Linked DNA regions of Homo sapiens: all the other regions are linked to region 1. The links are contacts of gene promoters, found by promoter capture Hi-C in human tissues and cell types (Jung and others, 2019). All regions are on one chromosome and are shown on one strand. The core of a region is centred on a gene start or on the middle of the fragment in contact, and the rest is flanking DNA. Distances in the headings are between cores, read along the strand shown.

Evidence for each region. The method cuts DNA at HindIII sites, captures the fragments that hold promoters and counts their contacts. A contact is called where the count stands out against the background at its distance.
Region 2: a fragment that was not itself captured here is called in contact with the fragment with the promoter of C11orf91 in region 1 in 1 of the 25 tissues and cell types used here (lymphoblastoid cells).
Region 3: a contact is called between a fragment that was not itself captured here and the fragment with the promoter of C11orf91 in region 1, in 1 of the 25 tissues and cell types used here (lymphoblastoid cells).

Annotation. Positions count from the first base shown.
Region 1 is chr11:33,699,124-33,702,770 of GRCh38, reverse strand. It overlaps C11orf91 (chromosome 11 open reading frame 91), which reads left to right and starts at 1,945. Exons shown (of 2, transcript NM_001166692.2): 1 at 1,945-2,526. The coding sequence starts at 2,031. RefSeq lists silencers at 1,770-2,009, 2,190-2,279. The HindIII fragment of the contact is 4,290 bases long and covers 1,209-3,647 here.
Region 2 is chr11:32,966,105-32,969,751 of GRCh38, reverse strand. It overlaps QSER1 (glutamine and serine rich 1), which reads right to left. Exons shown (of 13, transcript NM_001076786.3): 9 at 3,315-3,452; 10 at 609-706. The region is part of intron 2 of LOC105376615 (a long non-coding RNA gene); the gene reads left to right. Among named protein-coding and RNA genes, the nearest start is that of DEPDC7, 48 kb to the left of the region's middle. The HindIII fragment of the contact is 4,122 bases long and covers 1-3,647 here.
Region 3 is chr11:33,136,726-33,140,372 of GRCh38, reverse strand. All of the region lies in intron 3 of CSTF3 (cleavage stimulation factor subunit 3), which reads left to right. Among named protein-coding and RNA genes, the nearest start is that of CSTF3, 23 kb to the left of the region's middle. The HindIII fragment of the contact is 8,496 bases long and covers 1-3,647 here.

The sequences.
Region 1 (3,647 bases), core at 696-3,195:
AGGGGTGAAAAAATTTTTCTTCTAATCTCTTAGGTTCAGAGCCTGGGGCCTGAGAATTAAACTGACAAAGACAGATTAACAGAAGACAAAGTTTATTACGCAGGTACATGGGGTTCTTACAGAAACAAAGTGAAAACCCAAAGAAGTGGCTTGAGAGCTTATATACAATTTTAACAATGGGCGATTGTAGAAAAGTGATAAGACAAAGGAAAAGAGGTTTGAGCTTCTTGGGCAGTAAATTATGGGAAGTTAAATATGTGGGGGAAACTAATGGAAGATAAGGGTATTTTTTATTTTATTTTATTTTATTTATTTTGAGACAGGGTCCTGCCTTGTCACCCAGGCTGGAGTGCAGTGCTATGATTGTGGCTCACTGCAGCCTCAACCTCAGCCTCCTTGGTTCAAGAAATCCTCCCACTTCAGCTCCTGAGTGGCTCCAGGCAAATGCCACCACACCTGGTTAATTTTTTAAATTATTTTATAGAGACAGAATCTCGCTATGTTGCCCCTGGCTGTTCTCAAACTCTTGGCCTCAAGAGATCCCACCTCAGACTCCCAGAGTGCTGGGATTACAGGCTGGGTGCTGAGCTATCGCACATGGCCTGTATTAGCCATAGACTGAGGGGAAATACATTTTCTTGAGAGCCTCAGCCTAGTGATCACTTGTATGAATAAACAATGATGGGTGGCTGCCAAAGTCAGAGAGCAAATACTGCGTGTGACAACTAAGTGTGGGAAGCTCAGTGTGGGAAGAAAAAGCTTCCCAGTTTCAGACATGCCCCTTAGTAGGGACAGCTGCCTCTTGTGTTTGGACAAAGTGTCCAAGTTCAAGTGTTTCACACACACACTGTTCCGTCTTCTGTTTGATCACAACCCTATGAGGCAGCCTGGTTTTCTTATTTCTATTTTATGGAAAACCTACTTAAAAGTCAAGCAACTTGTCCAAGGCTACCCAGCTTGAATATCTGACTCTCTCCACTTTGCTGCTACACACACACACACACACACACACACACTTTGCACTGTGTGTGCAGATACATATGCATATATATATTTAACTTGTGAAGCTGATACTGACTCTTTAACTGCCCTCCACCCATCACTAGTCATACCAGTGATCATTAGGCAGAGGCTCTCAAGAAAATGTATTAGTTATTTCCCCTCAGTCTATGGCTAATACAGGTTACTCACATAAATGAGCTGTCATGTCCTTTGGACAAAATGTCCAAATCGCTCATAAGCAATGGGTGAAGTATTTGAGGTAGGGCGGACAGGATTTCCTTTTGGTGGTTAGCTCGTTGCCTGTTAGCTCCTGGTGATATCTGTGTTTGGAAGAGAACTAAACTGCATTTCACTGAAAACACTCCTTCAGGTCTATTACAAACCAGATGAGGATCCCCTTTTCTAGAATCTTCCTCAACACTGCTAACGTTTGGCAGATACATAGGTTGGCTCTAACAGCCATTCCCAATCAATCCTCTTCTCCTTTGTCTGCCTCCCACAGTAGTGGATGAAAAATCAGACACTGATTTTCTCAGACTTCTTTGCTGTGGGCGCGGCCAGTGAGGCAATGAGGTAAGTCTGCTGGTGCAGGGGCCAGGTTTCTAGGAAATACTTTTCTCCCTCATGGGAGAAAGAGAGGAAGCCTGAAGTAAGCTTTCTTCTGCAGCCCTGGCCCGCTGCCTGTTCTGGATGAGGGTATGCTGGGATATGACAACGGAAGCCAGCGGGGTCGCAGAGCAAGAGCGAGGCGGTGGGCGGAGTCGAGGGACGGGAGGCGAGGCGAGGCGAGCCAGGGGGCGTGGCTTTCTAACTGCGGGGTGCGGCCAGCCGAGGTGGGCGGGGCCGCGTTCCGGGACGTGGTCGTCCGGGCTTTGGAACCCCGCCTGTTAGGGGCCGGGCTGAGGCGAAAGGGTGGGGCCGCGCTCCATCGGGGCGGGGCTTGTGGAACCTCGAAACCCCGGCGACTCGGGGCCTGAGCGCGCGTCTCCCGGCGCGGGGTTCCTCCCACGCAGACCCTCATTCAAACGATGCCAAAGGGGCGGCGCGGCAGCCACAGCCCCACCATGAGCCAGCGGTCGGCTCCGCCCCTCTATTTCCCGTCCCTGTACGACCGCGGCATCTCCTCGTCCCCGCTCAGCGACTTCAACATCTGGAAGAAGCTCTTCGTGCCGCTGAAGGCGGGCGGGGCGCCAGTGGGCGGGGCGGCGGGGGCCCGGTCCCTGTCCCAGGCGCTCCCCGCCCCGGCGCCCCCGCCCCCGCCACCACCCGGCCTGGGTCCCTCCAGCGAGCGCCCCTGGCCCTCGCCCTGGCCCTCCGGCCTGGCCTCCATCCCCTACGAGCCTCTGCGCTTCTTCTACTCACCGCCGCCGGGGCCTGAGGTGGTTGCCTCGCCCCTGGTCCCCTGCCCCTCGACCCCCAGGCTCGCCTCTGCCTCCCACCCGGAGGAGCTCTGCGAGCTGGAGATCCGGATTAAGGAGCTGGAGTTGCTCACCATCACTGGGGACGGCTTCGACTCCCAGAGCTGTGCGTGACCTCGCCAGGGCCACCGAGCCCAGCCTTAGCCTGCCCTAGCTCCCTCCTTGGCTCCGTGCCCCGACCCGAAATGTAGCCTGGTTTGACTCCAGCCCCCAGTAGTCCCAGATCCAAAATCTATCCCCTAGCACCCAGACTCCCTTATCCTGGACTTAACCGACTCCTCCCCCCACCACAGATCTGAACTTCATGAGCCTCTTAGTCCCAAACTCCATCCTCCCTCCGTCCTAAACCCTTTGGGTCATCTGGACTCTGAGCCTCCACACCTGGAACTCCATCCGCCACCACCCCGTCCTGAACTTTAATCCTCCTGCACAGTCATCCTCCTACCCTGTACTCTGGAGCTCCACCCACCACAGACAGTCCCTAAGCTTTAATGTTCGGTCCTAAACCGGGGCTCTCCATGGGGGGAAGGTGAAGTAAGGTGACTGTCAGTTGTCTGTAGGGGGAGGTGGGAGTTGTGCAAGAACCACAAGGCCCAAGGCCGTTTCCAGGGCAGCTTTGGGACACTCCACTTCTCAATGCTGGGGGGCAGCCCCCCTGGGACTCTGTGGCCTTGGCGCCGGTAGTTCTCTCACCAGGATCCTGGGCTGATATCTGGTCTTACGTCTGAAGTCTTAGGGCTCTGGACCACGTGTGCTGATGCGGGCAGGATCCCTCAGCCTACGAGCTGAATGACTCCTCCCTGTTGGAGGGTAAAGTTGTTAAATGCCTTGTACTCCAAGAAGGACCTATTGCAAAGTAGAACTTTCAGTAGCGGTAGGTTGTCCTGCAGACTTTGTCTTTCCCATCACTTGTTTTGGCTAAGGCTTGTCCTTGACCACTGGAGAAGGGCAGATAGTTCTAAAAAGATCATTCCAACTATCGTATATAACGGCTTAAGTTGGCTTCCCCTGCCACACAGAGAAGGGAAGTATGAAATAACCTAAATGCTTAGGTCCGTGTGGCCATGGAAATGGTCTTCAGTTCATCAGACACACTGTAATGCACCCTTTCTCATAGCCATGGAAGGAAGACAGTCCCTAGAAAAACTGGGCTTTGCTAAGTCCTGGATTTCTTAACTATGAATACATACATAATACTATGTATTCATAGTTAAGAAATCTTAACCG
Region 2 (3,647 bases), core at 428-2,927, 730 kb after region 1:
GGTTGTGCCACTGCAATGTAGCCTGGATGACAGAGCTAGACTCTGTCTCAAAAAAAAAAAAAAAAGAAAAGAAAAGAAAAAAAGCTAGAAATTTTTAAACTACCAAGTTAGCTTCTATGAAAAATTATCTGAGTTGAGTTTAGATTAGCTTTTTCTATATTTCTGATAACACCAAAACCAACTTATATTGCCAAGATATATTAACATATAGAATTATATACATTTCCTACCCTTATAAAAATCAGCGTTTCCTCTGATATTGAATAAATGAGGCAAGTACGGTGAATTTTGATAACTGTGCTAAGGAAAAGCTAATTTTAATTACAGACAAAATGTAAAAATTTTGAAAAGCGTTAAAAGAACATTTGGAAATTATTTTATAGAAGATATAATAGATAACTATAAATGCCTAAAAAATAAATTTAAGTGGAGAAAAGCAAGTGATTAACACTAAGCAGACAAACTAAATGGACTTACAATGAATAAAAGCCAAATTTTCATTAGGTGAAAAATGTTGTAAGTGAATAATTTTCATAAATTTCCTTCCTATTATACTTAAGACTATGACTGCCATTGAGTTTTGCTAATAAGTCATCAGAAGGAAATACCTTGAATGATTGATCCAAATGAAGATTCAAAAGAAGTCTCTTTCGGTTATCATTTAGCATGCCATCTATTTTTTTCATATGAGGTAAAAGTAGCTCATCTGAAACAACATTATAATTTAACAGGATAAACTATCAATAAATATTTTTGAAAAAAATCCAACTTTTTCTCAAAACATTTATATATTAAAATACACTAAATTCATTGGCATATGTAAAATACTGATTGCAAAAAAATTGGACATGAAGCTTTCTGAACAAAGGTTAACTTGAAAAGTAGGTTTATAGTAGCAAGTGAGAAAGAGGCAGCTCAGTATGATGATGGGATGAGCACTACATGAGGATCCAAAGTTCTAAGTTTTAGCTGAACTACAACTGCTGGATAAACTAGAACTGGATTTTAACTGAATAGAACTGATATGTGGCAGCTATGTGACGAATAGGCAAGCTGCCTAATTCCTCCAGACCTCATTTACCCTCTGAACAATCTGAACAATTACAAAATACAAACTGATCTAACAAAACACTGAGTATGACCAAGGGATATTAAGTCACTTTAACTTGAAGCAAAGAAAAAGTAGGGGAAGAAAAATGATCAAAACCCAGTACCAAAAATATGAATCAAAATAGTTATTTTAGAAAAAGAGGGGAGAGTAAAATTATGACAAAGATTCCTATTCAAAGCTTTTGGCTTTCAGTGTCACCACTCTGAACTTTAAGCTCCATTAAGAAAAGTACTTTTAGAATATAATTAGTTTTGGTGTAGCATTAAACATTTTAGATTATTAGATTCTTTCTTAATTTACCAGCATAGTACTTTATTATATTTTATAATACTAACTGCCTCTAATAACCTTCTGAAAAAAAACAACAACCCAGAATCCAGGTCACAAGTTTCACAGCTAAGTAAAATGATTGTTTACATAGTCTTTCTATTAGTGATTCAATCTGTTCTAATACTGTATTTACATTCTACAAAAGTAAGTTTTAAACATTTGTGATTTAAAAATAATCTTAAAAAATTTTCTCCCCTTAGAGAAAAATCAGAAAACACTGATAAGCAATTTTTAAAAATCTTTCAAAATACAACTATACAGAAATGACTACTACAAAGAGAAGCATATTTTATGATGCAAGGAATATAACATTTAATAGCAAAAATGCTGACCTGGGATTAGCTGAGTTTTAATCATGGTTCTTCAACCTCTAACCTGTTCTTTAACTTTAATCTCTTTTGAACTTTAGTTTACAAAATAAATGTTTCAGACTAGGTAATATCTAAAGTCCCTTCCAGCTCCTAATTACTTGAAAATGACTGATATACAGGTTACTGTCTCTGATTAGGTGGTAAGAAAAGCACTAGACCAGAAATTAGAAGACTTTAATTTTAATCCTTTCTCTGCCAGTTTCAAGTTTGTGGGCCCTTAAGCAAGTCACTTAACCTCTCTGAACCTGTCTTAATCCACAAAATGGCTGTCTAAGTTGTTTTAAGGTTAAATTAGAATATATGTCTAAGTATGTGAACATAATAAAACAGTATATAGTCATGCACTGCATAATGACATTTTTGACAATGACAGACCACATATACAATGGTGGTTCCATAAGACTATAATGCCATATTCTTACTGTACCTTTTATTTTCTTCTTTAAAAAAAACTTTTTAAAAATTTCAATAGCTTTAGGGGTACAGGTGGTTTGGGTTACATGGATGAGCTGTATAGTGGTGAAGTCTGGGATTTTAGTGCATCCATCACCCAAGTAGTGTACATTGTACCCCATAAGTAGTTTTTCATCCCTTACCCCTTTCTCACCCTCTCCCCTTCTGAGTCTCCAATGTCCATTATACCACGCTGCCTTTGTGTACCTATAGCTTAGCTCCCACTTATAAGTGAGAACATGTGATATTTGGTTCTCCATTCCTGAGTTACTTCAGTTAGAATAATGACCTCCAGTTCCACCCAAGTTGCTGCAAAAGACATTATTTTGCTCTTTTTTATGGCTGAATAGTATTCACTATATTTTCTTTATTCACTCATCGGCTGATGGGCACTTTCCATATCTTTACAGTTGTGAACTGTGCTGCAATAAACACATGTGCAGGTGTCTCTTGGGTATTATTTATTTTCCTTTATGTAGATACTCAGTACTGGGACTGCTGGTGAGAATGTAAATTAGTGCAACTGCTATGGAAAACAGTATGGAGATTTCTCAAATAACTAAAAGGAATAATATTAATTGGTATAACCCAGTGCATTTACTGGTTTAATACTAATTTTAACTGATTAGAAAATAATTGCTATGATGTATCTTTTACAAAAGATACAAGTATATGATTTTAATCTTTATGCCACTTTTATCTGGTTCATCTTTCCAATTATTGGAAAATAAAATATACTGACATACAGACCTTTCATGTAATACTAACACTTAGTAAACTATTTATGAGGATGATTAGATTCTAGAATTGGAAGAAACTGGTTAGAAGCTATACAATTTTCCCATGAGTAGAAAGCAATAAAAGTTCAAATATTCAGAGAATGCATGAAAAGATATGACCATTTTATGGAATTAAGATGCTATATATTTAACTGACAATTTATAGGTATATATTACACAAGTCACATATAAACATATAACTAACAGACAAGATTTCTTTTTTTAATTCCAGGAAGTACTACCAAGGAAGTACTACTTAGAAGACTGTACCATTGCTCTTCTCTAAGGCTTGCATTGTGTCAGGGTCCAAGGCAATGCTAACAAGCAATTCCATGTAGCTCTTAAAGGTTTCCTTCATTGCTCTTGTGTTCAAAAAGCGAGTGACAAAGGGAGCGGGAGGTTCAAATTCTGGGAGGGAGAAAGGGTTAAATATTAAATTTTCCTTCCTGACAATTTTAAAAACACTTTTCTCTATAACGAGACCCTAGAAGCAGATTGCAGATACAATTTCTTCAAATTCAAGACTTTCTCACCTTACCTTTAAAAGGTCTGAGGTTCTCAAAGCTGGTTTGCACATGACAATGACTGAAGAGCTTTGTTAAC
Region 3 (3,647 bases), core at 569-3,068, 560 kb after region 1:
AGTCTGGTAGTTTTGGCCCATGACCATACCTTAAAGTTTCATCACCTATCCTCTGGGACCATTTCTTTCCTTAATATATTTAAATCACCAAAGTAGCTTGGCACAAAACAGGTGAGGCCTGTCTGAAATATGCTGAAGCCCGTGCTGCTTTGTATTAACTCATTAAAACAAGGAACCTGGATCACCTGCACCTGATCTGCATTCTAGTCTGGCTTTAGAAACACATTAGACTTAAATTCAAACGCACCAGAAATGAAAATAATTGATATATAATTGTTTTTGTATAGTGAAGTAGAACTTTCTGAGTTTTTGAAATTTCCTTGTTTCTCAATTATTCAGGCATTATTCATGCATTTTATTATAGCGTAAGTTAAACTGAAATAGGCAGTTAGATACTCCATTCTGTAACTCTGAACACAATGGGTTTGTTTCTCCAATTTCCTAGCTGTAAGTTACAAACTGCATCCTAAAAAAAAGTTTCAGGAAGACCAGATGTTATTCCAAGGGGCTGAAAGTTGTCTACATAACAGGCTCAATTCATATAATGAAATGAAGAGCTGCTAGCAGTTGCCTGATTTATTTAGTTGGTAATATTTGCAGTTACTTCACACACACAAACATACACACGCGCACAAATAGGTATATATAACATGTATTAAGAACAAATGGTAAATAATATATATGTATATTTTTTAAAATTTATATTTTTGGTTTAGGAATTAAGGTTTTAAATTGAATGCTGGTTTTAGAAATGCATATCCTGAGCTGTGTTTTTCTCTTTCCTGGTTTGCTGTTTATTTTTTATTTTCACATTCTATATTTTTGTTTAGCCTGTGAGAGGCTAAAGTTTTCTTTGATCATATCACTCAATGTGGCCATTAATATTTCTGGAGAAGACACAAACCTATTTATAATACTTTTTAAAAATCCGAAGTGATAATAAGAATGTTTTTACATTGAAAGTAATACTTAAGTGTTTACATAACATTCTGTATGCACTCAAGAAAATAAAGTTTTGTTAATACATTTGTTGTAACTCAGTACTTCATGGTGGGAAAATTGTAATGTTCATTTCTTTATATTCTGCTAAGCCAACTTGTGTGACTCCAAATACCTTTTTTTAATAGAAAATACATACATCTTTAGTAACGGAAGATAATTTGCTTCCCCAGAGAAACTCCTTGCAAATCCTATTTAAGTACAAAATGTCAAAGGAAAAAAGTATTAAACTTTTTAAAAAAATTTGAAACATCAGTTGGAAATGAGAGCATATTAATTACTTTTAAAAAAGGTTAATGATGCTGCTATATGAGCCAGTGCATCAGATTTGCTCATAACTGAGAGTTGAGCAGTATCTATTTAGCTATGTAAAATTTGGATTTAAAATGTCATTCTGAATTTGTCACATGCTTTCATTTTTTTGCTGTAGTGTGGAAATTGTTGGAGGTAAAATTATCTTGCTCTAGTGAATGGCATTTAGGACAAACTTCTGTGTATTCTTAATATATAATTTCAAAAACTAGGCCAAATTACTTTGGTGTTATATATAATACATAGGAGATAACATTTTGCCTCCACTCCCTGAAATACATTGTTCTACTCTTTATTCCAAAACTGCTAGGTCACATGATTTAACAGTATTATTATAAGATGAGCAAGTCATTAATTGTATGACTATTCTTAAAGTGATAGTTATCAAGTATAAAGTTTAAATATCACTATGATATGAAAGTACTTTTGTGACTTCTTAGTTTCAAATAAAGGAAACATTTAAATATGTCTCCAGCTATTTAATCGGATAAGGATATCTTAAATGCAGTTTAGTATATTTTTGGATTTAATAAATGAGAGGTTTTAAACACTTGAGTTAAGTGGAATGCCCCAGTCAGAGCCTCAGTGCTCTTTAAAGAACTACTTTTTACAATGATCAAAAAGGTCACTAAATAATCACAAAATTGAGAAAACCTACAGAATTTTGACATATTCTTTTAAATTGTTCTGCCCCACCCAGCCTGTGGTTTCTGTAGCTTTTCATGTAATTAGGTGATGAGTGACAACATGTAAGCTACAATATCTTATTGTTAGAGAAGTAATTTGTTTTGAATCGGGCCACATTCATAAGGAATTTTTTTACTGAAGCATGTTTTTTATTGGTGGCTGAAGGAGAAATGAAGAAGGTAATGCTGCTGGTAATAGCAACGATGTATCTTGCTGTCTGTGAAAGCTGTATTTCTTTAATAAAAGCATATAGAGAATTGATTGTTTTATTTAAAATTTTTACAAAAGATGAATTCTTTTCTCTATACTTGGTTTTTCCTTCCTTATAAATAATGGGTTGTGTAGCATACATTTCAGTTTTTCAAAATGACCTTTCTTCTTGGAAAATGGAAGTGAACTCAGGATGCAACATGAGTGTCCTAAATTGAAATAAACTTTTCCACTGTTGATACTGTTTTAATACCTTTACATAGCAATTTAAATTACTGTATTATAATGTTTTCTTTCTGTTGAGCAATGTGATTTTAAAATGCAGATACAATTACTGCATTATATAGATTATGGTGATTTCTATACTTCAGCTTGCAGCCTTTTTACCAAAAAAAATCTGTACTCTTTTCTTATAGATCTACACTTTTCCTGTTTGTAATAAATGTTGGTCCATGTCTGTGTGATTATTCAGATTTTTACTTTAAAACTCAATATGCTTTTTTATCTAGTTTCTTAGATGCATATATAAATGTAGAATAGAGATGTATTACAAGAAAAAAGTACTTGTAAACAGAACTGAGTGATAATCTGAAAGTGCTTTGAATAAAGTACTGTTTGATAAGCAAAGGAAATATTTGCATGTTGACTATAATAAGTAGTAAACTATTTTAGGTTTTATTGAATTATCTGATTCCATCCCTTTTCCCTATCCATTCTATAACAGAGATGTTTAGATGCTGTCACTTCTACTAACATGGTCTATACATTTTTTCCCTTGGGACTTTTTTTCTCAGCCAAAGCAACTACTTTCAAAAGGATGTAGTCACTTAGATAATGACATTTCTTTAAATAAAACTGTATGTTTTCTAATCTTTATAATTTCTAGATAATTCTTTTATGTGAAATGTAGCCATTTATTTTCAAGCAAAATCTTGTGCTAGTCAACCTGATTGCCTATGTATTTCTCAGCTTTATAAAGCAAAACTAATCTCTGCAGTCATTAGTAAACACATTGAAAATATATGGTCATTTTCTTTACCCTGCAAAGACTCTTACGTTTTAAACTCAGCTTCTTTATATTCTATTCTTTGGTGTAATAAGAGTCATGATATATTCTGAAATTGTGGAAAAAGGTTTATGATAAAAAATGCATATACATTCTAAAATTAATGGTGAAACAAAAAGGACTATTGGATCAGACAATTTGAAGTTTTTGGGGGAGGTAGTAATGTTTTACCTAAATTTCCTAGACATTCATGGAATAACATAATAATATGTAATACCTAATACTTAGTTGTTAAAAATATTGGGTATTATAGTCATTAGGATCATAGGGGATAATTTTGGTTCAAAACTCTATCCCTGTCCCAAAAGGTATTAAAGATACGCTGCAACGTAGCATCCATGAATCAACACAAACATGTAAGCCCCTCATAATA